5 separate regions of the Homo sapiens genome follow, and all the other regions are linked to region 1. Evidence: promoter capture Hi-C in 16 types of primary human blood cells and fetal thymus (Javierre and others, 2016). All regions are on one chromosome and are shown on one strand. The core of a region is centred on a gene start or on the middle of the fragment in contact, and the rest is flanking DNA. Distances in the headings are between cores, read along the strand shown.

Region 1 (6,152 bases), core at 2,347-4,846:
AAGGCAAGACTCAGGAAAGGCATTCTCTGGGAAGGGGATTTAGAATGGGTAGAGTTCCCACAGAGCCACAAACAAGGAGACTGATGAAGCCTCTAGTTCACTAATGACAATACAAGACCTTTGAATACATCACCATGTTCTTTAAATTTTATTTTATTTTATTCTTATTCAACAGAGCCAGGTACTGTGCTAGCACATGACTTCTAGTAAGACAGGCAAGATCACCACTCTATTAGAACTTATTCTGTTTGGGGAAAGATACATCAGAAGACAATTCAGAGAACTATTCAGACAGTACAGAAATAGGGCGTGGAACCAAGAATCAAGGCAAGGTTCATTAAAGTGGATATCTAAGCTATGGCAAGGTGAACATGTAAGGATTCACTAGGCGAGAGAGGAAGGAAGAACGTCATTTCAGTATCAGGAAAGAACATGTATTCTTCTCAGAAGCAAAAGGACATGTTGCAGTTGGGAAACACAAATGCAGTCTCACTGGACGGTAGTAAGCAGGATGAGGAATGGTAAAAGCCATGGCAGGTTATGGTGGATGTGTTTGGATGGATCACTCAGATGAGAGGTTGCTTTGCAGAATGCTTATGCTCATAGCATCCTTGCACAGAAGCTGCAGTAGACTACTGTATTTAAGGTATGAGAACTGCTCCTGACAAATGAGGTATGAATTAAAGAGCTACTCTCAGTGTTAGGATCTTAGGGGAAAAGACAGGGGTCAAAAACTTATCCCAAGAGTCGGTCCTCCCCATGTAGTAGCTGAAGTGCATCTCTCTAGTCAAGGATATGCTCTTCAGTTTCACAACATGTTCCCAGAAATGAATAGGAAGAGATGAAATGGGGGTATCCATCAAGAAACAGCCCTGTATGTTGTCAGGTATGAGGAAGGAAAGCGAGAGAAGATAAATTCTACCTTCTCCAGAGTTCCAGGTCAGTCCAGAGGGGACATCTGACATGGCTGGAACAAGGTCTGTGATACCAGAGACACCTATTGGATTTCATGAAAAGTCACTTCCTCTTGTGTCCACAATTCACCAAGCAATTCAGATCACAGATGAGACCAGTTCACACTTGGTCTCATCTGTGATTTGTGCCTGTAAGTTCCTCCTATAACATGATCTCTGCACAAATCTAGAAGGGAGCCATTTGCCAGGGAAAAAGTGAAGGGATTCAAATTGCATTAGAAGGAAAGATGGACCCTGAAACAGCTTTCTCACTAATATAGGAGGGGTAATAGCTGTACTTAGGAATCTTGGCAACAGAAAAATCCACTTGGTTGAGTCCTGTTAATTTTTCCATTCAAGAACTCTACATTTCTGGAGTAGAACAAAACTTTTCCACATTACAGCTTTGCTTAGTAGGACATATTCAAGCTATAAAAGCCATTTGATTAGACATACAAGTAAAATAGAAAAGTCTCCCTTTATTGTAAATCTAAATATCAGAGGAAAGATTATCTAGCCCCCGATTGTCATGAGTTTATAGCTCTTTTGCCTTTAGGATTAGTTCTGTGACTTGTCAACTTTCAGATTCTGTGTCCTACTGAGGAAGCAATCTTCTTGTCAAGAGATAATACTGGGTAAAGATTATATACTGTTGGGATCTGGTCTGATATATTCATGAAATAACAAGTGGCATAGTCAAAGGGGCAGTTGAAGGGACTATCTGCAGAGGCTTGACAAGAGTTAAGGAACTTGACAAGGGATGGGGAGGCACTGGGACTAACAGTAAGCAGCACAACTTAGCCTAGAACTGACCGGGCAAAGCAGGGCATGGTTACCAGAAAACACAAAGGGTCACTTCAGGAGCTGGGGCCTTTGGTAGAAGACCAAGACACTGCCAAACATAGCTGGTAGGAAGGGAACTAGAGAGTAGGTCTCTAATCTCTGGTTTTACCCTCATATCTCCTGTTAGTGCCTCACATTGACTGAGCCCACCTGGAAAATAGAGGACAAGGGAATCTGGGTGATACAGCCCATGAGTAAAATATAGCATCTGAGACATAGAACAGGGATCTATGCAAATGGAGAGTGCAAGTGAAGAACAACCAGAATATAGGTTAAGGAAGCCAAGCCACCTCCTTCCAACTAAATCCATCACTCCATTCTACCTGATGACTTCACAGGCCACTTCCTGTGTACTCCTTTCCTTCCCAGCCCCAATGACTCAGCCTTTTTATTTTCCCTATTTTGCAGTTATTGCCAACATTATGTCTACTTGTCATAATCTTTGAGAATCTGAAGGTGAGCCCAGCTTATGGAGAGGTTTTATGGGATAATGTCAGACTTACAGCAGTCACCCTCCCAAGCACCACAGCTTCCTGGAGATAGACATTCCAGAGTCTTTTGAAGTTTGAACATTTTTGGCTTTGCATGTTAGTCTCAACAGAATAAAGAACTAATGCTTAGTGTTACTGTCAGGCCCTGCATTTTCATTTAGTCATGACAACTTCTCTAGGCCATGGCTTTAAGTTTGTTGCAAAGTGTAGTTAGTTGTATTTCACTAATGGGATAAAGCAGTTCACCTAAGCTCTCACTGCCAAGATCTGAAGACAGATCTAGAAAAGTCCTAAGCCCAGATTGCTGACTATTCTGTAATCAACCTAACTAGGCTTAAGATGTACTGCATTAAACTTCTTACACGCTCCTCACCTTTCGTATTCCTCTGATATATAAGGAACACATTCTGGTATAGTCTTTTAGACAAAGATTTAAAAAAAAAAAATCAGACAACACATTGTTTTCATGTATTTGCTTTAAATTGACATCTTTTTAGTGAGTTGCTCTGGACTTCAAGTAAGGGTGTTTCATGGCCAAACATTTGTCTTAGGCTTCATGCTACTCTGCACTGAATGTCTTCTTCCTCCCTGCTGATAACCCTCTGTTTCTGGAGCCTTTTCTTCATATTCAGTCTTCATGAAGGGAGGAGGCCCTTGCCAGGCTTTGCCTTTGGGTATCAAATACGCATAAACTGAGCTTTGGTCAGCTTTCATCTTTCAGAAATCACTTTGTTTCTATACCCTCTGGAAGGTGTCATCTTTACCACCCCAAGTCTCTGCCTTGTGATTTTGGCCTGCAAATTAGACATTTCAGCTCATCCAGTAGTCAATTCTGGTCCCAGGCTTAAGCTTTGGTTTACCATAGAGCCTAGATAGTCCCAGGTGTCTCTGACCCTCTGACACTTCAGTGCATCTCCTTTTCTTTCAAGTAGCTGTACACTCTAAAACCTTCCAACATGATCTCAAGCACCACCTCATAGCCTACCTGCAGTGGTAAATGACCAGATAGTTATTTGCTTTAGGTCAGTTCATTCACTGATGCAAGAATATCACTCCTCGAAGGTCATACTGCAAAAAGATGTATTTCATTCAAATGAGTGTTTTGGCTTGTACTTTCTAAGATTTTGCGAACATTTTAGTATAATGTGACACTGACGTTCTAGAATTTCTTCTAAAGATGACTTATCTAACATCTAGTCAGTGACCCTATTATTATAGGAACTTAGAGTAAAATATTGTCTTTTATTTCCAGGAAAAACATCCTGCTGCGTTTAGTGGTACAAGTGAGAAGGTTCACATATAAATAGCCATGCTCACTTTTCATAATGTCTGCTCAGTACCCAGCTCCTTCTGGCTCACTGGCATCCCAGGGCTGGAGTCCCTACACGTCTGGCTCTCCATCCCCTTTGGCTCCATGTACCTGGTGGCTGTGGTGGGGAATGTGACCATCCTGGCTGTGGTAAAGATAGAACGCAGCCTGCACCAGCCCATGTACTTTTTCTTGTGCATGTTGGCTGCCATTGACCTGGTTCTGTCTACTTCCACTATACCCAAACTTCTGGGAATCTTCTGGTTCGGTGCTTGTGACATTGGCCTGGACGCCTGCTTGGGCCAAATGTTCCTTATCCACTGCTTTGCCACTGTTGAGTCAGGCATCTTCCTTGCCATGGCTTTTGATCGCTACGTGGCCATCTGCAACCCACTACGTCATAGCATGGTGCTCACTTATACAGTGGTGGGTCGTTTGGGGCTTGTTTCTCTCCTCCGGGGTGTTCTCTACATTGGACCTCTGCCTCTGATGATCCGCCTGCGGCTGCCCCTTTATAAAACCCATGTTATCTCCCACTCCTACTGTGAGCACATGGCTGTAGTTGCCTTGACATGTGGCGACAGCAGGGTCAATAATGTCTATGGGCTGAGCATCGGCTTTCTGGTGTTGATCCTGGACTCAGTGGCTATTGCTGCATCCTATGTGATGATTTTCAGGGCCGTGATGGGGTTAGCCACTCCTGAGGCTAGGCTTAAAACCCTGGGGACATGCGCTTCTCACCTCTGTGCCATCCTGATCTTTTATGTTCCCATTGCTGTTTCTTCCCTGATTCACCGATTTGGTCAGTGTGTGCCTCCTCCAGTCCACACTCTGCTGGCCAACTTCTATCTCCTCATTCCTCCAATCCTCAATCCCATTGTCTATGCTGTTCGCACCAAGCAGATCCGAGAGAGCCTTCTCCAAATACCAAGGATAGAAATGAAGATTAGATGATTACTATTTTCTTCTCTCTCAAATAAGCTCATGGAGAAGGTGTTTAAATATGGTAGGCTGCTTCCCATTAGGAACTTTACAAGCAGTTTGAAGTATTAGGCACTGTGCTCTCCAACTTTTGTAGTTCCAAAGGAATTCTAAGAAAGTATACAACTCTAAGTCCTAAAAGGTGGAAAATACAAAACTTACAACTAAAGGATATTTGAGCTACAAAGAAGGTAAACCAACCGTGATAACGACAAGCTGCTAATATTTAGCATTGTTCATGTAATTCTTGAAAATATCCTGACATGAGGTATTATTGTTTATATTTTATGAGGAAATAGGACAGAACACCCTTGCTTTATGAACTACATACAGTTACTTAAGCTGCCTAGCTCCACATTTGGTTGGAATTTGTAATACATTGTAAAGTTATGTATTAATACTTTCTATTCTTTGTTTTCTGTATATCCTTTAAAAGGTAAATTTAAAAAACTAAGTCATTTAATTGAAGTTTCCTTAGCTGCAAGGTGACACCTTCCTGAGTTAAGCCTCTCTTAATTGAGATGCTGTTCAAACTGCCTGTAAAAATGTGTTCTAGAAGACTCACTTGTATGTGCCCAGAAGATTTGGGGATACTTATGAAAGAGAATGTGGCCTGAAAAAAAATTGTCAGGTCAATGAAGGAAAATGAGACAAGGTTACCATGTCTCAATATTGCCTTTGTTGTATTCTCTGCAGGCTTGATGCATATGAGGACTCTGTGGAAATAAGTCTTCCCTTTCCCACAGAAACACTCCCCAAACCCTAATCCCATCTGTAGGATTCCTGCCGATAGTGTGCTACATCCTTAAAATGAATCAGCAACAAGTTGCAAGTTATATAGTTTATAGAGACACTGACTTTGTCCTCCAGATTAAATATTAACTATGTTCTAGTCATTGAGCTAACATGGATAAAGCATTTAGTTACTATTGACAGGATTACTGACATAGTCCTCCCAACCACACTAAGGTAAGAATTACTCTATTTTGCAAATGAAGAAATTGAGGTTCCCAGAAGTGATAGAATTGCCCAAGGTCACTCAGAGAGCAATAGTGAAACCAGGAATTCAGCCAAGTTTGTTTTTAAAGCTCAAAGGCTTCCAAGCCTCTCTGTTCCACATTTTCCTTAACTGAGGAAGGGTGCTGAAAGGCCTTTCCTGGAGGTCTGAGTTGTCATGCACTTAGACATTAGCTACACCCATTATTTCTAAAGTCAGAAGTATACAGATCAAAAAGCAGTTTCTTTCAGTGCTGTTTCCAGAGGAAGGACAAAACGTAAATCTAGGTCTGCTCACTAATTCTACAACTCCATAAAGTCAAGAAAATGTTGAATACACTAGGCTTTAGGTAGAAACCAAACTGACCAAAGGAGTAGTCAAGTGCAAAGGAAAGAGCACTGCATGAAACCAGAGAAACTTTTCTAGTTTCTCTTTGGCTAGTCCAGAGAATGGAATGGAAACCACTCCGCTAATGGGACATCTGGAATGTGTGATCATTTAGGGATCCAATTACATGCATCTCTAACTTCCATCCTATCACACCGTAATGAGTAGCTTTCCCTAAACTTTCATCCGAG
Region 2 (6,152 bases), core at 1,937-4,436, 400 kb before region 1:
GACTAGGAATGAATGGGATCCTGAAAATTGGAATGGTGACATATGGGAAGATCCTGTTGAAGCTGGTAATATTGAATCTCTAAATTCTGATGAGTCTTCATTGCCAGTAGAAGCAGAGTTAACTGATTTACCCAAACTGATTATACCTAATTGACATTAACTGCTTTCCCTGAGGAAACTGATGTCTTCCTCTGAGATAATTGCCTTGCAGGACACTGCTGATTGTCCTCAGGACCCACCCTGACCACCCCTCTTTGGTTCTAAACCTATAACTAGATTCAAGTCCCAGCAGGCCCCAAAGGTGAGGTACAAAGTGAGATCTATGAGGAGGTGTGCTACACTCAAAAAGAACTACATGATTCTTCCCATTTGAGAATATGTGTGGAAATGGATATTAAGGATATGTGATAATGGTGGAAGGAACATAAAGTTGGATCAGGCTCAGTTTATTGATAGGGGCCCACAAAGCAGAGGTTTTGGATTTAATATTGCAGCATGGGGGATCGAAAAGTGCCTGCTCTAGCTGGTTGGTTGGTTGGTTGAAACATGGACCAAAATTTGCCCTAAGTGAAGTTGAAATGCCAGTCCTGCCTTGGTATACTATAGAGGAAGTAGTTCAAAGGCTTAGGGAGATCGAAATGTTAGAGTGGATTTATCATTTAAAAGACCAGCTCTCCCACCCTGAGGGAAGTCTGGAGGACACTTCACCATGACTGTGAGAAGTAAATTTGTGAGGGAAGCCTCAGCATCCTTAAAGACCTCTGTGATTGCTCTTTTCTGTAGGTCTGAAATTACACTGCCACTGAATTGGGAAACCTAAATTCAGTGGGAGTAATTGGATCCCATAGTGCCAGGTAGAGACACTTAATTGCCAAAGGCAGGGTGGGAATAGTTACTATAATGGACAGCAGAGTTAAAGCAGCAATCAGAATCGTCTGACTTGGCCAGATGCAGTGGCTCACACCTGTAATCCCAGCACTTTGGGAGGCCGAGGCAGGCAGATCACTTGAGGTCAGGAGTTTGAAATCAGCCTGGCCAACATGGTGAAAGCCTGTCTCTACCAAAAATACAAAAATTAACCTGGTGTTGTGGCGTGCATCTGTAATCCCAGCTACTTGGGAGGCTGAGGCAGGAGAATTGCTTGAACCCAGGCGGCAGAGGCTGCAGTGAGCTGAGATTGTGCCACTGCACTCTAGCCTAGGTGACAGAGCGAGACTCTGTCTCAAAAAAAAAAAAAAGTCTGACTCACAGAGATACGGTTTGGCTAGATGATCATGGAGTTCCTCGAGGTGAAATACATGGGGAATCTATTAAATTCTAACTTGATCTATATAAGCAGAAGAGTTTCCGGTTAAGTGAACAAGTCTAATTTGAATAATAAAACCAGAATTATGGCCCCTCAATCAATTCCCAGATTTGAACTAGTTTACAGACCCAGAACCCCTCAAATGAAAGGGAGACCAAGTCCCCTTGAGGAAGGATCCCACTGCACTATCAAAGATATATACTGTTAAATCTTTCTCCCAGCCTTTCCCAGAAGGATCTATGGCCTTTTACTAGTAACTACATTGGGAAAAAGAGATAATCAAACCTTTTGAGGATTACTGGACACAGACTCTAAACTGACACTAGTTCCAGGAAACTAAAACGTCACTGTGATCTTCCAGCTGGAGTAGGAGCTTATGGAGGTCAGGTAATCAATGGAGTTTTACCTCCAGTCTGTCTCACAGTGGCTCCAGGGATCCCTGAAACCATCCTGTGGTTATTTCACTATGCAGTTCGGGAATGCGTAATTGGAATAGATACACTCAGCAACTGACACAGAGAACCAACCATATTGGTTCTCTGACTTGAGTGAGGGCTATTATAGTGGGAAAGTTCAAGTGGAAGCCACTAGAACTGCCTCTACCTAGGAAAATGATAAACCAAAATCAATATTGCATTCCTGGAAGGATGCCAGAAATTAGTGCCACCATCAAGGTCTTAAAGTATGCAGAAATAATTTCCACCCCATCCCCATTCAACTCACCTGTTTGGCCTTTGCAGAAAATACGAATTTTGGAGAAAGACAATGGATTATCATAAGCTTAACTGGGTGATTACTCCAACCAGAGGCAGTTCTATTGCTTGAGCAAGTTAACACATATCCTCATACCTGGTATGCAGCTATTGATCTGGCAAATGCTTTTTTCTCCATACCCCTTAGTAAGGACCACCAGAAACAAGTTTGTTTTCAGCCGGCAAGGCCAGCAATACACCTTCACCATCCTGCCTCATGAGTATATAAACTCTCCAACCATATATCATAGTTTAGTTTACAGGATTTTGATCAGCTTTCTGTTCCACAAGATACCACTCTGGTCCAATACGTTGGTGACATTATATCGATTGGACCTATGAGCAAGAAGTAGTGACTTCTCTAGACTCATTGGTAGAATACTGGCATGTCAGAAGGTGGGAAATCTCACTAAAATTCAGGGCCACCTTCTACACAGGACAATTTCTAGGCATCTAGTGTGAGGCATGTCGAGATACCCTTTCTAAGGTTAAGGATAAATTGTTGCATCTGACGACTCCTACAAGCAAGAAAGAGGCATGATACTTAGTGTACCTCTTTGAGTCTTGGAGGTAAAAAATCATGGTAACCATTTCCAGCTTGGTTATGGCAACTGAGTGCCTCCACGTGCCACTCTGAAATCTAATTACTCCCATTGAATTTAGGTTTCATTTGGAGCAGCACACTGGGGCATGCTACTCCATCCTGTTTACCAAAAGCTGCTAGTTCTGGGGCCCAGAACTACACAAGGCACTGCCACAGGTCCAGGCTGCCAGGGAAGTTTCTCTGCTACTTGGGCCATCTGATCCATCAGATCCAGTGGTGCTTGAAGTGGCAGTGGCAGATAGAGATGCTCATTGGAGGCTTTGGCAGACCCCTGTAAGTGAATCACAGGACAGGCCCTTAGGATTTTGGACCGAAGCCCTGCCATCATCCCCTGTGGGTAACTACTCTCCTTTTGAGAAATAGCTTTTGGTTTGCCTTAGTAGAGACTGAACACTTAACCATGGGCCACCAAATTACCATGTGACTTGAGTTGGCTGTTGTCCGACTCAACTTGCCATAAAATTGAGCATGCACAGTAGCAGTCCATCATCAAATGGAAGTGATATATACAAAATCAGGCTCAAGCAAACCCTGAAGGCACAAGTGACCATGAAGAAGTGACCCAAAATCCCGAGGTCTCCAGTTCTGCTACACTGCCTTTTCTTCCCCAGCCTGCACCTATGGCCTCATGGGGAGTTCCCTATGATCAACTGACAGGAAGAAAAAACTCAGGCTTGTTTAGTAGATAATTCTGTGCAGTGTGCAGGCACCGCACCCCCTTTCTGGGACATTACCTGAACACTTTTCCCTTCTGTAGATGATAAGGAGCTGTGGACGTTTTTTTTGTTTTGTTTGTTTTTGTTTTTGTTTTTGTTTTAATTTTGAGACAGAGTTTCACTCTGTTGCCCAGGCTGGAGTGCAGTGGCTCGATCTTGGCTCACTGCAGCCTCTGCCTCCTGGGTTCAAGCGATTCTCCTGCCTCAACCTTCCAAGTAGCTGGGACTACAGGCGCACGCCACCACACCGGGTTAATTTTTGTATTTTTGGTAGAGACGGGCTTTCGCCATGTTGGCCAGGCTGGTCTCAAACTCCTAGCCTCAAGTGATCTGCCTGCCTCGGCCTCCCAAAGTGCTGGGATTACAGGTGTGAGCCACTGCCCAGCCAGAGCTGTGGAAGTCTTTTAAGCAGGGGTTAGCTTTTAGGTAGATCACATTGGCTGTCATAGGAAGAATGGCCTGACTATGGGTTTGGTTCCGACTTTGATCTGGATCCCAGATCAGGGCTTAGTCTGGTTTTTGGGTCAGACTTGGGCTCCAGTGCAGGACCCTGTCTGTGTGCCTGAGGTCAGCACGGTGGCCTCAAAATGTGACCTGTGTGTTTGGCTGAGTTTGGGTTTCCCAGGGTAGGGTCTACTGTGGTCTTTGGGTCAGACTGGGACCCCGAAGAAGACCTGGTCTGGGTGTGTGTCAGACTGGGGACCCTTGGGCAGGAGCTGACCTGTTTGTGTGGGCTAGACTGGACATCGCAGGGTAAACCTGACCTATGTGCCTGTACAGCTTGGGGATCTCAGGAAAGGACCTCACTTGTGTTTGGGACTGACTGGACTCTAGAACCCAGCCTGCTACCTGGATTAGACTGGAAGCCTCAAGGATGACCTGTGTATTAGGTCTGAATAAACTTCATGTCAAGCTTAGGCTATGTTTGGGAGAGACTGGGCTTCAGGGAAGTGCCCGCCTGTTTATTTGTTTCAGACTGGGTGTTGTTCAGACAGGGCAGGTTGTGGTCTGTATGACTTGCTCTATAAGACTACCTTAGTGAAGCCCCATACATCCAGATATTAGTTGGGACTTCCTCAGGAGTTGGGAGGAGGACAGAGAAAATAAACCAAGAAGGATAAATAGGTAAATGCAATTTTATTACTGGGGGTGAAAACAAAGAGCATTCTAAGAATTTAACAAGCAACAGTTGACCAACAGGGAACCTGCTGTTGAGCCCGTAATCTGCTGAGGAAATTTGAGCCTGTCCCTGAGTACTGCCTGCTTATCTCTTCTCAGAGATCATAGCCCCAACTTTCGAAGGTAGTAAAGTCCCTCACCCTGGCGGTTTCCAGTCTCATGTTCTGCAGCCTCTTTGGCTTCTCCCCAGCCTTCTGGGCTGTTTCCTTTTCACAGAGCATCTTTTCTACATGTTGCTGGATCTCCCTAGTCCTCACCCCATAAATGACAGGATTCAAGGCTCCTGGAAGCAGCAAGTATATGGCACTGAGTAGATTCTGGACATTCTGGGACACAGTCTTGGCTACTCAGAAGGTGATGGAAGTGGAAAGACCAGAGACGTAGATGGAGAGGATGACCAGTAGGTGGGAGCCACACGTGTGTAAGGCCTTGGCTTGGGCTCCCCAAGAAGAGATCCGGAAGGCAGCATAGATGATGTGGGTGTAGGAGGTCCCCAGCAGGGCCATATCAGAGATTACAGTGACCAAACACATAGCCAGCCCCAGCCAGTTGTTGAAGGTCAGGTCTCCACAAGCTATGCTCAGCAGTGCAATGCACTCACAGGTGAAGTGTCGAATCACTGCTGTCCGGCAGAATCGGGCTTTTGCAGTTAGTACTACCAAGGGCACTGTCACTCCCAGGCTCTGTGTCAAGGCAAGAATGGCCAGCAGTCCCAGCAGCTGGGAGGTCATCAGGTCAGAATAGCAGAGTGGGTGGCAGATGGCTACGTAGCAGTCCAGGGCCATGGCCAGAGGAAGTTGTAGTCCAGGAGGAGGGTGAAGTAGATAAAGAACACCTAGGCCAGGCGGCCATGCAGCGATATGGGGTTAGCATAATATACAAAGCCCTCCAGCATTTTAGGCATCACGGCTGTGGCAGCACGAATATTGACAGCCAGGAGCACAGTGATGAGCATACACGTAGGCTGATGCAGATTTTGCCGGGCAACCACTGTGTGGATGACCAGGGCATTGGCAGAGATGATGGTCACAAAGAGGAAGACAAGAGGCAGGACCAGAAGGGGCCACCACTCTCGAAGTCCAGGGAAACCCACCAGGAAGAACTTGGTGCAGGAGATGTTGAAGGTGCTTGTATTTCCATCCTCACCCATTAGCTTTGGCCCTGGGCCGGCACCAAGAGTGGGGATCAGAGACTGTTAGAACAAAATGGTCAATTTTAAAAAGACTTTTTCTGTTGTAGACACTGAGGAATTTGTGATAAAAGCCTACTTCTTCATGTATGTATTCCTTTGGGGCACAGATAAGTACTAAGCCGGGTGTTGTAGGAACTACACAGTTACCTACAATCTTTGTAGGTAACAATCTTTGTCCTCAGGGAGCTCTTGGCCTCATGTGTGTGAAATGTAAATGTAAACTTACAAGATACTTGTTTACTTGTAATGTTCCAGATATTTGCTCAGTAAAAGATTAGGAGGAGAAGTAGGTGTAGTATACACAGGGGAAAAAGAGTGACAGCCAGAGACAAAACAAGAAAGGTTAAAAGAAGACTCTTGATTCAGAGGAAGAGAAAGTATTAGAAGAATCTTTGATCCAAGG
Region 3 (6,152 bases), core at 1,100-3,599, 380 kb before region 1:
TACTGTACCTGGCCTGAATATTCTACTTCTTGATAGAAAAAAACAGACTCTGTAAAATATTTGAAGAGGGTTATCCTGAGAACATGTGCCCAAGGTGGTTGGGTTGAGCTTGGTTTTATACATTTTAGGGAGACAGATGTTATTGGTGGGGGGAGCAGTTGTGTGGGGGTTGCCAGGTCATAGGTGGATTCAAAGATTTCCTGATTGGCAATTGGTTGAAAAGGTTAAGCTTTGCCTAAAGAGTTGAAGTCAGCAGAAAGAAATGCTTGAATTAAGGGGGGTTGTGGAAGCCAAGGTTCTTGTTATGTAGATAAAGCTTCTAAGTAACAGGCCTCAGAGAGGATAGATGGAGCTTCTGAACAGCAAAAGAAACTACCATCAGAGTGAACAGGCAATCTACAAAATGGGAGAAAATTTTCGCAACCTACTCATCTGACAAAGGGCTAATATCCAGAATCTACAATGAACTCAAACAAATTTACAAGAAAAAAACAACCCCATCAAAAAGTGGGCAAAGGATATGAACAGACACTTCTCAAAAGAAGACATTTATGCAGCCAAAAGACACATGAAAAAATGCTCATCATCACTGGCCATCAGAGAAATGCAAATCAAAACCACAATGAGATACCATCTCACACCAGTTAGAATGGCAATCATTAAAAAGTCATGAAACAACAGGTGCTGGAGAGGATGTGGAGAAGTAGGAACACTTTTACACTGTTGGTGGGACTGTAAACTAGTTCAACCATTGTGGAAGTCAGTGTGGCGATTCCTCAGGGATCTAGAACTAAAAATGCCATTTGACCCAGCCATCCCATTACTGGGTATATACCCAAAGGACTATAAATCATGCTGCTATAAAGACACATGCACACGTATGTTTATTGTGGCACTATTCACAATAGCAAAGACTTGGAACCAACCCAAATGTCCAATAATGATAGACTGGATGAAGAAAATGTGGCACATATACACCATGGAATACTATGCAGCCATAAAAAATGATGAGTTCATCTCCTTTGTAGGGACATGGATGAAATTGGAAATCATCATTCTCAGTAAACTATCGCAAGGACAAAAAACCAAACACCACATGTTCTCACTCGTAGAAGGGAATTGAACAATGAGAACACATGGACACAGGAAGGGGGCCATCACACTCTGGGGACTGTTGTGGGGTGGGGGGAGGGGGGAGGGATAGCATTAGGAGATATACCTAATGCTAAATGACGAGTTAATGGGTGCAGCACACCAGCATGGCACATGTATACATATGTAACTAACCTGCACATTGTGCACATGTACCCTAAAACTTAAAGTTTAATAATAATAAAAAAAGAAAAATAAAAAAAATCAAAGAAAATCTAAAAAAAAAACAAAAAAAACCCCAAAAAACAAAAAAACAAACAAAATACATCTCTTATTGGCCTTTAAAAGGTGTCAGGCTCTCTGGAAAATACCTAGTAAAGGGAAGAGATGACTCTCTACAGAACGGAGATTTCCCCACTAAGAGACAGCTTTGCAAGGTCACTTCAAAATACGTCAAAGGAAATATATTTTGGGGTAAAATACTTTGATTTCCTTCAGGGCCTACCATCTGTCAAGTGATGCTATACCAGAGTCTGGAGTTGGATCTACAAAGAGTAGAGTCTATTTGCTACAAAGAGTCTATTTTTTCAGTCTTATGATCTCTATTTTAATGTGAATGCTGGTCAGTTGTACCTAAACTCTAAAGGGAGAAGGGTATAACCAGGCATGTCTGATCCCCACTTCTCATCATGGCCTGAACTAGCTTTTCAGGTTTCTTTGGGATCCCCTTGGTCAAGAGAGGGCTCCATTCAGTGAGTTGGGGGCTTAGATTTTTATTTTTGGGTTTACACATTGCACATACATCATATTTTCTTTATCTGTTCATTTATTCATGGACATTTAGGTTCTTTCCACCTCTTGCTATTGTGAATAATGCTGCAATAAACATGAGAGTGCAGATATCTCTCTAATATCTTGATTTCAATTCTTTTGGGTAAATACCCAGATGTAGGACTGTTGGATGATATGGTAGCTCTATATTAAATTTGAGGCTTCGTAACTTTTAATGTTTCCTGCTGTGCCATGTATTTTTCCTTTGTCCCTCCAGATCTACTTGCTATCTTTTCCATTCTGCTGTCTGCCTGTTTCAGGAAGACTGCATCAGCACATTACCTTGCCTGCTGGCTTTCAGTGGCTTCAGCCAAATTTCACTCCCCACTAGAGTAGGAGGTTGGGAGAACACTGAGGTCAGGGAGTTGGTTCCCCTGGCTCCCTCTCTGCCAGGTCACAGATTCCTTGCTGAAGACCACATCCCTGGTTGGGTGACGTTTTTCTATCACTACTTTTTGGGTTTCTGTGTCTACTCTCTCCATTTGACCCTCAGATCATGGGGTGGTCCTGGCTCTTTGCTGTGCAAATTCAAGGGTGCTGCCCTGTCCCTCATTGGCTTACTTAATCCCATCTGTGTTTATAAATAGTCCCTCATTATACTCTCCCCAATTATCCTCTTTGAGTGTCCCGTCTCTGTCCTTCTGGGCCCTGACAATCAGAGATGGTGGACATATCCTAAACCCAATGAATGGTTATACCTTTTCTGGCTCAAGTCGCTATTTTCTGTCCATCCTTGGTGCTTGGTGACACTTCTCCAATCCTTGAAGCAGAGGTCTTCTCTGATCTTATCATAGTGGTCTTTACTTATCAGCAAACATCAGAGGTAAACAATCAGCCTCATGGGAAGAGGGAGGTTGTTTCTTCCCAGGGTAGCCTGTGGCCTCTGCTGTTTCAGTTGTGGTAGTTCTTGAAGCCTGTTATCTGAAGTCACCAGCATTTACTTTAAATAAAACACAAACTCTCTAGCTTAGCTCCAAGGCCTTTCAAAATGTGATGCCAGACCATCTCTTCAATACTTGTGTCTTTCTCTACATCTGTTCTACTGTGTTTTACCCAAACTTATCTATTATTCATGTAGCAGGCAGAATAATGACCCACTTCCCCTAAAGATGCCCATGTTCTACTTCCCTGGGAATATGAAGAAAGCGGAGGTCAGAGTCATGTGCTTGCTGGCACTGAAGATGAAGAAAGATGGGGGAAGAGGACACCAGACAAGGAATCTGGGCAGCCTCTGGAAGCAGCTAAAGGCAAGGAAACAGGTTCTCCCCTAAGTCCTCCAGAAAGGAATGCAAATCCTGCCGACACCTTGGTTTTAGCCCAGTGAAACTTACTTTGGACTTTTGACCTTCAGAACTGTATGATAATAAATTTGTGTTGTTTTAAGCTACCAAGCTGGTAATAATTTGTTACAGTAACAACAGGAAACTAATATATTCCCTAAATGCTCATCCCATTCTCAATATAAGCCAGTGGTTCTCAATCTTGGTTTACATTAGAATCACCTAGGAAGCCTTAAAAAAATACCAGGACCTGGACCCTGTCTCCAAAGATTCTGATTTCCTTAATGTCTGAACATTAGTGTTTTTAAAAAAGCTACCCAGGAAACTCTAATATAATTGGAAACCATTGATCTAGACCTTTACTCAATGCTGTCTCCTCTACAGGAAATGATTTTCTTTCTAGCTTGAAGATTTCAACTTGGGATGCCCAGTAGAAACTCTAGAGGAGTTTTTAAACAGCACCATTGTACTGCCAGGACTCCATTCCTAGAAAGTCTGGTTAAATTGGTCTGAAGTGGGGCCAATAATTGATTATTTTTTTAACTCTTATTTTAGTTTCAGGGTTACATGTGCAGGTTTGTTATATAGGTAAATTGTGTGTCATGGGGGTTTGGCATACAGAGTATTTTGTCACCCAGGGAATAAGCATAGTACTCGATAGGTAGTTTTTCAGTTCTCGTTCTCCTCCCACCCTCCACCCTCAAGTAGGACCTGCTGTCTACTGTTGCCATCTTTGTGTACAGGAGTACCTGATGTTTAGCTCCTACTTATAAGTGATTACATGTGGTATTTAGTTTTCTGTTCCTGTGTTACTTTGGTTAGGATAATGGTCTGTAGCTGCATCCATGTTTCTGGAAAGGACATTATTTCATTCTTTTTTTATGGCTGCATAGTATTCCATGGTATATATGTACCACATTTTCTTTATCTAGTATAATGTTGACGGGCATCTAGGTTGATTCTATGTCTTTACTATTGTGAATAGTGCTGCAATGAACATATGTATGTATGTGTCTTTATGGTAGAACAAATTTTTATTCCTTTGGGTATATACCCAATAATGGGGTTGCTGTACTAAATGGTAGTTATAAGTTCTTTGAGAAATCTCCAAACTGCTTTCCACAGTGGCTGAACTAATTTACATTCCCACCAGCAGTGTATAAGTGTTCCCTTTTCTGCAGAAGCTTGCCAGCATCTGTTATTTTTTAAATTTTATTTTATTATTTTTTGAGACAAGGTCTTGGTCTGTCACCCAGGCTAGATTGCAGCCTCAATCTCCTGGGCTCAATAGAGCCTCCCACCTCAGCCTCCTGAGGTGCTGGGACTACAGGTGCACACCACACTCCCTGGTAATTTTTGTATTTTTTGTAGAGAGGAGGTTTTGCCATGTTGCCCAGGCTGGTCTCAAACTCCTGGGCTCAAGCAATCCACCCACTTTGGCCTCCCAAAGTGCTGGGATTATAGGTGTGAGCCACTGTGCCTGGCCTCTTTTGGAACTATCGTTATGAAGTTTTGGAATAGCAGTTATGCTAGTTTCATAATGAATTCACTCAATTTCCTAATTAAATATCATGTTCTAGGATAGTTTTTTATAGCACAGGAATTTTTCATCTTTTGAAAGTTTGGGAAGAACTTACTCATAAAACCTGGGTCCAGGTGTCTTTCAGGTAATAATTATTTATTAATGCTTTTTGATTTCTTTCTTGGTAATTAATCTACTCAGGTTTTTAATCTTTTCTTAAGTAAATTTGAAAAATTATATCCTTCTGGAGATTTGTCTATTTCATAAAGAATTATAAATTTATCAGCATAGACTCCTACAGGGTGATTTGCATTTCAACCAGGCAATTAAATACCTTAACCCAAATAATAAATCTGTAATGCTGGTAATATTTTGAGTCATGCTCCACCTAGCTCATCTCAAATCACTCTGTGGTGTAAAAGGCATTTCTTTACAGTATGTATGAAAATACCATATACACACTCACTAAAATACTCAAGAGACACACACTCCATAAACACACCATCTTCTGGAGAAGTGGTTCTACCACAGACTGAATCCCATAACAAAAATATTGCTTCTGTCCTCACTGCTCAGACCCCACTCTTGCTAGTCATTTGCCTCACTGACTTATCAAAAACTCAGATGATGAAGGGTTAGGATCTCAGAAACATAGGCCATCAGAGGAAGAAGATTTTATTTTTGTCTGCACACAAGGAATTTAAGGAAGAGAGGAACTGCAAATCTGCTGGTAGCTGAAGGTGGTGGTAGCCACGATCCCTACATGCTCAGCACTAGGGCAGATGGGCTCCTCTTCCCATCCTTTTTGGGGCCTCTAGGACAATGTAGAACATCCAGAATCACGAATTCACAGGAACCAAGAACAGCAACATATTCACAGCCATATACAGCAGAGGTCTGTAGAGGTCACCTTGCTCGGCTCCTGCCTGGATATGAGCTCCCTCAACTTGCATGTCTCTAGAGATGAGTTGCTCACTACTGTGTGTTGAGGCCGTCAGTTTTGTGAGTGGGTGGCTTTACCCAGATGTCTTTCCTTACTGAGGGCTGAATCTCTCTTCGTGTGGTGTCATCTCCTTGGTTCTAGGTCTGTCCCCAAGAGCTTCTTGGGGTTGTTTTAATAGGAAGGAGCAGAGGAGAATTAACATATTTTTGAGGGCCTACCATTTCTTGGCCCTGTGAAGTACTTTCACCGCTACAATTTCCCCCTCATTCAGCAGCCCCAACCCCTCTATTATTAGACAGGCATTAGAACTGAGCATCAGGCACATGAGGTCATCTTTTACCCTTCCATTTATTTGTTCATTCACCATCGTTTTTGACATTTGTTATGTACCAGGCAGTCTGCCAGGCACTGAGGCTTAATGGGCTCACTAGATGTGGTTTCTGTGCCCAAGTTACTTAGAGTCCAATGGAGAAGAACCAGAGTG
Region 4 (6,152 bases), core at 2,626-5,125, 340 kb before region 1:
CATCAAGCCAAAGGTAAAGGGAAATTTTTACTGGCAAGGAGAAGCTATGTAAGCTGCTTGGAGACAGAGTTCATTGGTTCTGGAGGCTCAAAGCTAGAATTAGCATCAGTTCATTGGTGGAGATGCCACTGCTAGGCATCGGCCTAGCATCTTATCAGAATTGCTACAGTCCTAAAGAATGTATAGTGATAAACCTGGTCATAGAAATATGTGCATGCATGTAAAATGTAAAATGCATGTAAAATGTAGATCATGAAAAGCATGAGATGTATAAAAGATGAAGGAATTTCTCGTGGAGTTATTTTAGAAAGTCCTTGAAATAGTCCTTATCTCAGATGTGCAAGCATGAGCTGTGCTCCTTTGTGTGTTCTGGCTCCAGTTTGCTCGGGTCTGACAAAAGTGACTTATTTTGCTATCTGCAACTTTAGTCACTCCATTTCCACCCACTCCTGTATGGAACCAATCTCATTAGTTTCTGGGTTTCCTTTCCTAAGTTTCTTTTTGTATAGTTGTGCAGACAAATATATATTTTCTTATTCCCCTTTCTTTCTTGCACAAAACGTGGCATACCATAAACACTTTCTCACACTTTGCTTTTTAAATTTAACAGCATATCTTGGGAGCCATTCTATATCAGTTTATAGATGTCATCCTCATTCATTTTTATAGCTGCAGACTATTCCATTCGATGATGTACCATAGTTCATTCAACCATTTTCCTATGTAAAGTCATTTTGGTTGTTTCTAATATTTTTCAATTATAAACAATGCTACAATGAAAATCCTTAAACATATGTATTTTTGTATATATTTGAATATGTATTACCAGGATAAATTATAAAAAGGGGGAAAAGCATGTGCCATTTTGTTTGATATCATCAAATTCTCCCCCATTAAGGTTGTACTAATTTCCATTCCCATCAGAAATGCTTGAGCATCTACTTTCTTCAAGCCTTGCCAACAGAACGTGTTAGTGTATGTTTACATTTTTGCCAATCTGCTAGGTGAGAGATAATATCTCAGTGTTATTTTAATTTGCATTTCTCTTATTATAGTTGAGGCTGAATGTTTTTTCACATGTTTACGGGACATTTTAATTCTTTTTTCAGTCAATGGTCTGTTTATGTCTTTGACTATTTGACCATTTTTATATCAGGTTTTTGAAACTTCTATCGAGTAGAAAAAGTTATTTATATATTAGCGATATTACATATGTATCTGTGTTATATATTACCGATCTTTTCTCTCAGTGTTTAATTTATTTTGGGATTTTTTTTTTTTTTTCTGCGACAGAGTCTTGCTCTGTTGCCCAGGCTAGAGGGTAGTGGTACAGGCTCGGCTCACTGCAACCTCCCCCTCCCAGGTTCAAGCGATTCTCCTGCCTCAGTCTTCTGAGTAGCTGGGATTACAGGTGCCCGCCACCACGCCCGGCTAATTTTTGAATTTTTAGTAGAGACGGGGTTTCACCACGTTGGCCAGGCTGGTCTTAAACTCCTGACTTCAGGTGATCTGCCTACCTTGGCCTCCCAATGTGCTGGGATTACAGGCGTGAGCCACAGCACCCGGCCAGGACTTTTCTTTTTTCTTTTTTTTTTTGAATAAAATAATTTTATTTTTGTATAATAAAATAATTTTATTTTTGTATAATAAAATAATTTTATTTTTATATAATACAATTTATCAGTCTTTTATTGTTTTGGATGAGTTCACTTCCATTAAATCCAGGGAAGTGAAATTATATATGTGACCTTAATATGAGTTTTAATAATCTACTTTTCAATTTTTCAGTATTTTAAATATTTCTTTAATGTTCTGGAAAAAATAGCCACTAGCAAATACAGAAATACGTGTACACAGGGGCACACATTTTTCCTTTTGTCTCTGTCTCCAGTACGTCTCAGGGCAGCACTGAGCAGAGGCCTATGGGCCATCTCAGTCTTTCATTAGAGCCAGTAGCCAAAACATATCTGTCCAAGAGCTATGACAACAGCAGCAAAGCTTGTGGAAGCCTCAGCCAACTTAGTCCTAGAGTTTCCACCAAACTGAATGGTTCCCCATAGTGAACACTGTTTTACTGAGAGAAAACAGTCAGCGCTTCTTGGTTATCCACCTCCCTAAGAGTTATAATAGCGATAGAAAAATATGAGAAAACTTCAACTTCAGTAGATTTAGTTCTGACGCCTCCGCTAAACTTAGTGGTTCCCCATGCTCTGCGGACGCTTATATTCACAGAATATCCTCACCACTTTTTGCTAGTTGCCTACCCTCTGTGACATATCGTTGCCTCCCCCTTCGCATATCACTGTCCAGTGTGGCAATACTCTACACACAGCCACCTCCTTCTTTTAAAGGAGGTGGCTTTACCTCTGTTAAGGGACTATCATGCTCTTTCAGATCTTTTTTTAAATTTTTATTTTTTAACCTTTTAAAAATTTCAATAGTTTTTGGGGAACAGGTGATTTTTGGTTACATGGATAAGTTCTTCAGTGATAATTACTGAGATGCAGCCATCACCTGAGCAGTGTACATTGTACCCAATGTGTAGTCTTTTATCCCTCGTCCCCCTCCCAACTTCCCCCTTGTCTCCACCGTCCCTTTTATCATTCTTACACTTTTGCGTCCTTGTAGCTTAGCTCTCACTTATAAATGAGAACTACAATATTTGGTTTTCCATTCCTGAATTTCTTCACTTAGAATAATGGTCTCCAATTCCATACAAGTTGCTGCAAATGCCATTATTTTGTTCCTTTTAATGGTTGAGTAGTATTTCACTATATATATATATATATATCTCACATATATATCACATATATATGTGTATATAAATGTGATATATATATGTATACACACACTACATTTTTAAAATCCACTTTTTGGTTGATGGGCATTTAGGCTGGCCCCATATTTTTGCAATTGCAAATTGTTTTGCTATAAACATATGTGCAAGTGTCTTTTTCATATAATGAACTCTTTTCCTCTGGGTAGATACTCAATAGTGGGATTGCTGGATCAAATGGTAGTTGTACTGTTAGTTCTTTGAGGAATCTCCATACTGTTTTCCATACTGGTTGTACTAGTTTACATTCCCACCAGCAGTGTAGAAGTGTTCCCTGTTCACTGTATCCACACTAACATCTACGGTTTTTTTGATTTTTTTATTATGGCCATTCTTGCAGGAGTAAGGGGGTATCTCATTGTGGTTTTAATTTGCAGTTCCCTGATGATTAGTGATGTTGAGCAGTTTTCATATGTTTGTTGGCCATTTGTACATCTTCTTTTGAGAATTGTCTATTCATGTCCTTTGCCCACTTTTTGATGGGATTATTTTTTTTTTCTTGCTGATTTGTTTGAATTCCTTGTCGATTCTGGATATTAGTCCTTTGTATGATGCATAGTTTGCAAATACTTTCTCCCGTCCTGTGGGTTGTCTGTTTACTCTGCTGATTATTTCTTTTGCTGTGCAGAAGCTTTTTAGTTTAATTAGGTCCCATCTATTTTTGTTTTTATTGCACTTGCTTTTGGGTTCTTGTTCATGAACTCTTTGCCTAAGCCAATGTCTAGAAGAGTTTTACTGATGTTATCTTTTATAATTTTTATAGTTCCAAGTCTTAGATTTAAGTCTCTGATCCATCTTGAGTTGATTTTTGTATAAGGTGAGAGATGAGGATCCAGTTTCTTTCTTCTAGATGGTGTCCTTTTCCCACTTTATGTTTTTGTTTACTTTGTCAAGGATCAGTTGGCTTTAAGTATTTGAGTTTATTTCTGCGTTCTCTATTCTGTTCCATTGGTCTACATGCCAATTTTTATACCAGTGCCATGCTGTTTTGGTAACTATAGCTTTATAGTAGAATTTGAAGTTGGGTAATATGCCTGCAGATTTATTCTTTTTGCTTAGTCTTGCTTTGGCTATGTGGTGTCTTTTTTTGTTCCATATTAATTTTAGGATTATTTTTTCTAGTTCTGTGAAGAATGATGATGGTACTTTGATGGGAATTGCATTGAATCTGTAGATCCCTTTTGGCAGTATGGTCATTTTCACTATATTGATTCCACCCACCCATGATCTTGGGATGTGTTTCCATTTGTTTGTGTTGTCAATGATTTCTTTCAGCAGTGTTTTGTAGTTTTCCTTTTAGAGATTTTTCACCTCCTTGGTTAGGTATATTCCCAAGTATTTTATTTTTTGGACACCCCTCATTTAATTGTTTGTAGATGGTTCATACCTAAAAAGAAAAACTACAAGTTGCCAATTATGTTATACTATCACAGACTTGAATTTACCTTTAAGCTTCTCAAAGAAATGAAATCTGTTCAGATGGCTAAATTGCCTTTGTCCAGACATGCCAGCCAACAAAAGATAAAAAACAAATACTTGTCCTGATGGTGGGTATGATTTTGGGTTGGCCCATGATTTTGAAATGCTTTAAAAAAAAAGGACATTTTCTGACTGTTACAGGAATCCTTATAAAATGGATAGCAAATTAAGGAACCCTGAGAAGTTTTCCATTACCTAAAGAAATGGCCATGATAAATGTAGAATTTAGCAAAAGTGCTTCATGATATTACCCATAATACAAGAGATAAATCTGCCATGATTTTTATTTTATTTTTTATTTTTTGACTTTTATTTTAAGTTCAGGGGTATATGTATAGGTTTGCTACATAGGTCAACTCATGCCACAGGGGTTGTTGTACAGATTATTTTGTCACCCAGGTATTAAGCCTGGTATCCATTAGTTATTTTGTCTTATCCTCACCCTCCTCCCACCCTGCACTTTCTGGCGGGCCTCAGTGTCTGTTGTTCCCCTCTCTGTGTCCATGTGTTCTTATAATTTAGCTCCCATTTACAAGTGAGAACATGTGGTATTTGGTTTTCTGTTCCTGTGTTAGTTTGCTAAGGATAATGGCCTCCAGCTCCATCCGTGTTCCTGCAAAGGACATGACCTTGTTCTTTTTTATTTGTCATGATATTGAACCAACATTGATGGGGGTAATTTTAGGAGGTTTCATAGACATTTCCAAAATATGTCCAACCTGACAATGACACAATCCTGGCAAGATTTTAAGGATAGGTCATGGACAGGAACCGAAGTCTCACTGCCCCTTTGAACGTCTCCAAATGTGCTGAGTGCATTCTGATTATTGTTGTTTATTCTTAGGGTTAGTTGATGTTTTACCTTACTGGAGAGTGGTAGCTATAGTGGTAGGAACAAATTTGCTTAATTTTGTTGTATTTCTGACTTGGAAAATCCCAACTTATTTTGCAGTTAAGAGGAACACACATATCACTGGTACTGTTGTTACTGAACCCTGCAATGCTTTACTTTTTACTCAGAATCTCTACTGACCTTTATCATCCACAAAATTCAGGGAAAAGATAGAACTAAAATTCTAAAAGTATAATTATCAGAGCTCTCAAAACCCTCACACTCCTAAGGCTTGAGGAGTGCTATTGGTGTTGATGGAAGTAAGACCAATTTTCAGGACCTACAGGTGGCCACCTTTGGAATTCATAACAGGCTTCCTCACTACTTGCAATCCTAGATTCTACATTATGAGTACAAGCTGATATGATTCATTGCTGAAGGGTACTCACAATAACTCCAGCTTTATCACCAACAGGTAAACGCTGCATTTCTACAACAGCCACCTGTGCAGGCCCTGCATGCTCTGTAACCTGGGGATTTGGTCTTCTGAAAAGGGCACCAGAGAAAAACTGCTCTTAAGCCTCTGTTAACTGACACAGCAGTAGAACTCCAAGGTGTTGATCCTTGGATTCATGTTTCTCAACTTCAGAGACACACATCACTCCTTCCTGACCACTGGGCATCCATCCCACCAGGAGCTCCTAATCTGAGAGCTGTTAGAAATCCTCCAAAAGTGCTGACTGCAGAAGTTGGTAGCTTCTGCTCAAGATGACAGAACAAGATTAACTTTTGTATTCTTCAGCACCTTTTTTATTTTCCATTATCACACTTTGATACCCTCTAAAACATTAAAACACCTTCTAGAATGCTTATGTGATCAACTTGATCTTTGTCTTATTAATTTTGACCTCTGTCATCTCCTTCTACCACTTAAGAAAAAACCAAAACTCCCTTGTGCATCTTTTTCAAACCACAGCTACTGCCCTGAATTTAACTAATTACTGA
Region 5 (6,152 bases), core at 1,013-3,512, 330 kb before region 1:
GGAGTACACATAAGGTGCTCAAAAAATGTTGCGTGAACGAACCATTAATCGACAAGTGACTCGTGGTGTCTCCATCCCACTGCTTCCTCTCTCTCACCACCATCTTCACTGATAATGTCATGTCCTTCAACATTGATCAACATTGATAATGTCGTGTCCTTCCTCCCACCCCACGGGTGCTTCTCACTTAGCAGCATCTTCATCATTCATATTGTTCATCTCTTCCTTTCTGAGGTGATTCTCTCATCAAGCCCTCTATTCAAATGGTAGCCAACATTGTACCAATGACATCAAAATTGGAGGGTATCAGGTATGCCCTCCTCAACATCCCACCACCCCACCTTCCAACTTGGACTCATCAACACCTATATTCTCCACAGAGGCAGTGAGACCTACTGGCTAAGGGCTCAGGACATTTTTTTGATATGGAGTCTCACTCTGTCACCCAGGCTGGAGTGCAGTGGCCCGATCTCGGCTCACTGCAACCTCTGCCTCCTGGGTTCAAGCAATTCTCCCACCTCAGCTTCCCAAGTAGCTAGGATTACAGGCGTGCACCACCACTCCCAGCTAAGTTTTGTATTTTTAGTAGAGACGGGGTTTCACCATGTTGGCCAGGCTGGTCTCTAACTCCTGACCTCAGGTGATACACCCACCTTGGCCTCCCAAAGTGCTGGGATTACAGGTGTGAGCCACCGCGCCCGGCCAGGCTCAGGACTTTTAAATCAGACAGATTGGGTTCTGAGTGGTAATGACCTTAGGCAATATCTTCATTTCTTAGTCCGTTAGTGGGTAATTCCACGTATTTCCTGGTGTTGCTCCTAAAGGAGACAAAATACCTGAAGTCTTATTACACATACTAGCTAAGAGTGCCAACTCAGTAAACTAATTATTACTTTATTCTTGGCTACTGAATAAAGTGTTCCTGTTTTTCAAGATCACCCGCTACTCCCCTTCAAACCGTTTCATCCCATCTAGGGCCTTGCTACATAAAATATCCTTCATAATTTATATCATCTAAGTCTCCTCAAGATGAAAAACACACTAAATACGTCCTGTCTTCAAAACAACCAGCACAACATTCTACATGTGTCAGGCCCTGCCTCAAGTCCAAATCTCATCTACCCTCCCCCGACAAGCCTATTTTCTGAAGGAGCATTATCTCTACTTGTTCTGTAGCCCAGGGCTATCTCACTTATATCTGAGCACTAGAAAGAAACTGTTCTGGTAAACAAAACTCCTAATTCTTCACATGCTGGAACTCTCTACTGAATTCAAGTTTTGATCAATCTCTGCTTCTTGAAGAAAACTTTTTGGATCCTTTGCTTCAGTGAAACCAACATTTGAGTTCTCTTGTTTATGGGAGAGTCCCTCTTCATTACTTACCCTAAATTTAGAGTCTATTAGGCAAATATTCTGACTTTTAATTCTCTTTCTACATGTTCTCCTGCTGACTCAAATCTGATTTTGAAATGAGGTGGGTTATAAACATATAAGGAGTAGATGCAAGCTTTTTCTCCCACTCATCTGATGGCTTCATCGTGCACCTGTAGGTACCGATGCCACTGAAATCTAAACTTCTATCCAAGGCTTCTTCTCCAAGCCTCAGAGTTGAATATATAAACAGCATTAGGAAACTTTTCTTTTGTATATCTCAAGTTGAATTTGGCAAAAGTAGAACTTCCTACTTTGCCTCAATTATCTATTTTGGTTAGTTGCAAGACTTAAGGTGCAATCACCCTATTTAGAAACCAGGGAATCATCATGGACCTGGACCTTCCTTCATCCAATTGATCATGAAGTTTTAACAAGATTATTTCCTAAATGTTTCTGAGACCTATTCTCTTTTCCATCACTAGGTCATGGTAGACTCTAACTTCTAGTTCAAGTCCAAGGAACCCCTCTCATCACTCCATTTGCAGAGGAAAAACAATTCAAATATGAGCTGTCCAAGGATGCACAGCAATCGGCTTGTAGTTATAGGGGTAGGGCTTATTGAAAGAGGCTAAGCAAAAATACACTGAGAATAAATGCTGTTTTTTTTTTCCTTTGTCCACTTTTGTATGGGGTAATCATTTCTTTCTTTTTAGAATGGTAAGCTCTAGAGGATAAATATTTGGATGAAGGCCATAGGAAAAGGGGCCACAGAGGCCTGTTTAATAGAGACTTCAGGTCTGAGATACAAATGAGTCCTCCCAGCTCACAGTTGGTAGCTCAGTTCATGACATTACCTAGAGTTTGCACCAACATTCAGCTAGTATTAAAAACTTTGCTCACAACTATTGCAAGGACAGAAAACCAAACACCACATGTTCTCACTCATAGGTGGGAATTGAACAATGAGAACACTTGGACACAGGGTGGGGAACATCACACACCGGGGCCTGTCTTGGGGTGGGGAGATGGGGGAGGGATAGCATTAGGAGAAATACCTAATGTAAATGATGAGTTAATGGGTGCAGCAAACAAACACGGCACAGGTATACATATGTAACAAACCTGCACGTTGTGCGCATGTGCCCTGGAACTTAATGTAAGAAAAAAAAATAATTCTGCTCAGGAGGAACATCTCTGTGTATCTTCTTGCTGAGCCTGTGGTGGTAATAGGTAACAGGCAGCTACTTGAGCTCCTGGAGTTCTTAGATGCGGGCATCTCTTTTTCAGAAGATGCAACCAATATTTTCTAACAGGACCTGGAGAATCATTTTATTTTAAAATCCCTCATAGTTCCAATGTTTAGATCACCTGTGGTTCTGTCGCTATTTTTTTCCACATTTTTTTTTAGTTATTTGGTAGTTTCTTGGCATGCTTGGTGTGTGAGTGTGAATGGATAGTGATTTTATATGAAAAAATTAGAGACTGTTCTCTGAAACTGTTACGTTTCTCTAGAAAGAATTCAGGCAGATAAGTGTACTGGCAGATCTTGATCCATCTAAGAGGACGCTTAACTTTTGCTAGTGCTAGCGTTGATCTTTTTCTGGGTTGTCCTTACTCCTAGAGTACAGCCCTTCTAGTGTTTCAAAGCTTCCTAGTGTTTCAGTGTTTATTTACAAGGGTTGCTCTACCTCCTCAGGCCCTGACCTCCAGCCTCTGACTCCCCAGCACCATCAGACTGCTAGTCTTTGCATAACTGTTTAGCTTCACAGCTGCTGCTTTCAATTCAGGTGCTGAGAATCTTGCCCTGAACATGCACAGCTTAGGAATTGGCAAACTCCTCAAGGGGAATCGGGACGCTGAACTTTGGCCCAGTTTTCTCTAAGGCTGCCTCTTCTATCTCAGGTCTCAGACTCCATGGTATCCCTGAACTGCAACTTCTTTATTCCTAGCCTGCTGGGTTTCACTCGCGTCCATGTGAAGAGACCACCAAACAGGCTTTGCGTGAGCAGCAAGGCTGTTTATTTCACCTGGGTGCAGGCGGGCTGAGTCCGAAAGAGAGTCAGCGAAGGGAGATAGGGGTGGGGCTGTTTTGTAAGATTTGGGTAGGTAAAGGAAAAAGGGGGTTGTTCTCTGGTGGGCAGGAGTGGGGGGTCACAAGACTCTCAGTGGGGGAGTTTTTGAGCCAGGATGAAGCAGGAGAAGGAATTTCACAAAGTAATGTCATCAGTTAAGGTGAGGACCAGCCATTTTCACTTCTGTTATGGTGGAATGTCATCAGTTAAGGCAGGAACAGGCCATTTAAATATCACTTCTTTTGTGATTCTTCAGTTGCTTCAGGCCATCTGGATGTATACATGCAGGTCACAGGGGATATGATGGCTTAGCCTGGGCTCGGAGGCCTGACATTCCTGTCTTCTTATATTAATAAGAAAAATAAAACATAATAGTGTTGAAGTGTTTGAGCAGTGAAAATTTTGGGGGGTGGTATGGATAGATAATGGGCGATGTTTCTCAGGGCTGCTTTGATTAGGGGCAGCGTGGGAACCTCGAGTGGGAGAGATGAAGCTGAAGGAAGATTTTGTGGTAAGGGGTGATATTGTGGGGTTGTTAGAAGAAACATTTGTCGTATAGAATTATTGGTGATGGCCTGGATATGGCTTTGTATGAATTGAAAAAAGAGCAGAATAAGACAAGGAGAACAACAGGTATTAAAGGACTAAGAATTGGGAGGACCCAGGACATTTAACTAGAGAGTGCCTAAGGAGGTTCAGCATAGCCCTGCCAGCAAAGATTATTTACTTTAGGAGGGAGTTAAGAGTGGCAGTTTGGGGATAGCACCATGAGATATCAGCTGTGATGGCTTGGAGAGACAGTGTAAACCGGCAGTGTAAACAAGAGCAGGGCATTTATGAGTAGTTGAGAATGGTGAATAGGAGTATGACTAGACAGAAGATAGTAGGGATGACAAGTTTTTTTTTTTTTTTTTTTCGGAGGGGGTCGCAGTCCAAGTTGGTCTGGTGTCTGGAATGAGACTGGGGCCTAATAAAAAGGAGCGTCTATAGAGGAGTTCAAATGGGCTGTACCCTGTAGCATTCCGAGGACAGGCCTGAATTCTGAGAAGGGCAAGTGGTAAAAGTATTGCCCATTCCTTTTTAAGTTGGTGACTGAGCTTGGTGAGGTGAGTTTTTAAAAGACCATTAGTTCACTGAATACTAAGAGCCTGAGAAACTGCTTGGGTGATTTGACTAACAAAGGCCGGTCCGTTATCGGACTGTATAGAGGTGGGAAGCCCAAACTGAGGAATTATGTCTGACAGAAGGGAAGAAATGACTGTGGTGGCCTTCTTAGACCCTGTGAGAAAGGCCTCTACCTATCCAGTGAAAGTATCTACCTAGACCAAGAGGTATTTGAGTTTCCTGACTCGGGGCATGTTGAGTAAAGCCAATTTGCCAGTCCTGGGCGGGGGCAAATCCCCGAGCTTGATGTGTAGGGAAGGGAGGGGGCCTGAATGATCCCTGAGGAGTAGTAGAATAGCAGATGGAACCCTGAGAAGTGATTTCCTTGATGATAGATTTCCACGATGGAAAGGAAATGAGAGGTTCTAAGAGGCGGGCTGGTGGCTTGTTGTATAGCATAGCTTGCCTTTGCTGGTGTGTGGCGATTAGGCCTGGTGGAACTGCCATCAATAAATCAAGCGTGATCAGGGTGAGGAACAGGAAAGAAGGAAATATGGGGAAATGGGGTGAATGTCAGGTGGATCAGAGAGATACAGTCATGAAGGTCAGGTGTGGTATCCGGAATAATGCGGGAGGCCGGATTGAAGTCTGGGCCAGGAACAACGGTAATTGTGGGAGACTCAACAAAGAGTGAGTATAGCTGAAGGAGCCGGGAAGCAGAAAGTATATGCATCAGGTGTGAGGAAGAAAATAGGTTTTGGAAGTTTTAAGAACTATAGAGAGTGAGTTGAGCATAGTTTGTGATTTTGAGGGCCTCTAAAATTATTAAAGCAGTGGCAGCCACTGCACGCAGACATGAGGGCTAGGCAAAACAGTAAGGTCAAGTTGTTTGGACAGAAAGGCTACAGGGTGCGGTCCTGGCTCTTGTGTAAGAATTCTGACTGCACTAACCATGCCCAGGAAGGAAAGGAGTTGTTGTTTTGTAGAAGGGATTGAGGTTTGGGAGATTAGTTGGACATGATCAGCAGGGAGAGCACGTGTGTTTTTATGAGAATTATGCCGAGATAGGTAACAGATGAGGATGAAATTTGGGCTTGACTGAAGCAATGGGAGCTGTCTGTGAAGGCTTGTGGCAGTACAGCCTAGGTAATTTGCTGAGCCTGATTGGTGTCAGGGTAAGTCTAAGTGATGAAGGGTGCAAAGGGATAGTAAAGAAAGCATGTTTGAGATCAGACAGAATAATGGGTTGTGGAGGGAGGTATTGAGGTTAGGAGAGTATATGGGTTTGGCACCATGGGGTGGAGAGGCAAAACAATTTGGTTGATAAGGCACAGATCCTGAACTAACCTGTAAGAAAGACTTGTCTGGTTCTAGGACAGGTGAAATGGGGGAACTTTAAGGGGAGTTTATAGGCTTTAAAAGTCCATGCTGTAGCAGGTGAGTGATAACAGGCTTTAATCCTTTTAAAGCGTGCTGTGGGATAGAATATTGGCATTGAGGGGGGTAAGGGTGATTAGGTTTTAATAGGATGGTAATGGTCATGTGATCGGTTGCCAGGAAGGGAGTAGAGATGTCTTATACTTGTGGGTTAAGGTGGGGGGA

Evidence for each region. The method cuts DNA at HindIII sites, captures the fragments that hold promoters and counts their contacts. A CHiCAGO score of 5 or more calls a contact.
Region 2: a fragment that was not itself captured here is called in contact with the fragment with the promoter of OR52M1 in region 1 in 7 of 17 cell types (M1 macrophages, M2 macrophages, monocytes and 4 more); the score reaches 11.1 in M1 macrophages.
Region 3: a fragment that was not itself captured here is called in contact with the fragment with the promoter of OR52M1 in region 1 in 1 of 17 cell types (M0 macrophages); the score reaches 6.0 in M0 macrophages.
Region 4: a fragment that was not itself captured here is called in contact with the fragment with the promoter of OR52M1 in region 1 in 14 of 17 cell types (M0 macrophages, M2 macrophages, monocytes and 11 more); the score reaches 15.3 in M0 macrophages.
Region 5: a contact is called between a fragment that was not itself captured here and the fragment with the promoter of OR52M1 in region 1, in 3 of 17 cell types (M0 macrophages, M2 macrophages and M1 macrophages). The highest score is 6.9, in M0 macrophages.

Annotation. Positions count from the first base shown.
Region 1 is chr11:4,541,595-4,547,746 of GRCh38, forward strand. OR52M1 (olfactory receptor family 52 subfamily M member 1) reads left to right here and starts at 3,597. Exons shown (of 1, transcript NM_001004137.1): 1 at 3,597-4,550. The coding sequence starts at 3,597. The coding sequence ends at 4,550. The HindIII fragment of the contact is 8,356 bases long and covers 3,135-6,152 here.
Region 2 is chr11:4,141,589-4,147,740 of GRCh38, forward strand. It overlaps the pseudogene OR55B1P. Among named protein-coding and RNA genes, the nearest start is that of LINC02749, 42 kb to the right of the region's middle. The HindIII fragment of the contact is 2,205 bases long and covers 2,085-4,289 here.
Region 3 is chr11:4,158,734-4,164,885 of GRCh38, forward strand. No RefSeq gene overlaps it. Among named protein-coding and RNA genes, the nearest start is that of LINC02749, 25 kb to the right of the region's middle. The HindIII fragment of the contact is 4,071 bases long and covers 315-4,385 here.
Region 4 is chr11:4,196,637-4,202,788 of GRCh38, forward strand. It overlaps LINC02749 (long intergenic non-protein coding RNA 2749), which reads left to right. Exons shown (of 2, transcript NR_047550.1): 2 at 5,623-6,017. Among named protein-coding and RNA genes, the nearest start is that of LINC02749, 13 kb to the left of the region's middle. The HindIII fragment of the contact is 821 bases long and covers 3,466-4,286 here.
Region 5 is chr11:4,215,965-4,222,116 of GRCh38, forward strand. No RefSeq gene overlaps it. Among named protein-coding and RNA genes, the nearest start is that of SSU72L5, 14 kb to the right of the region's middle. The HindIII fragment of the contact is 1,514 bases long and covers 1,506-3,019 here.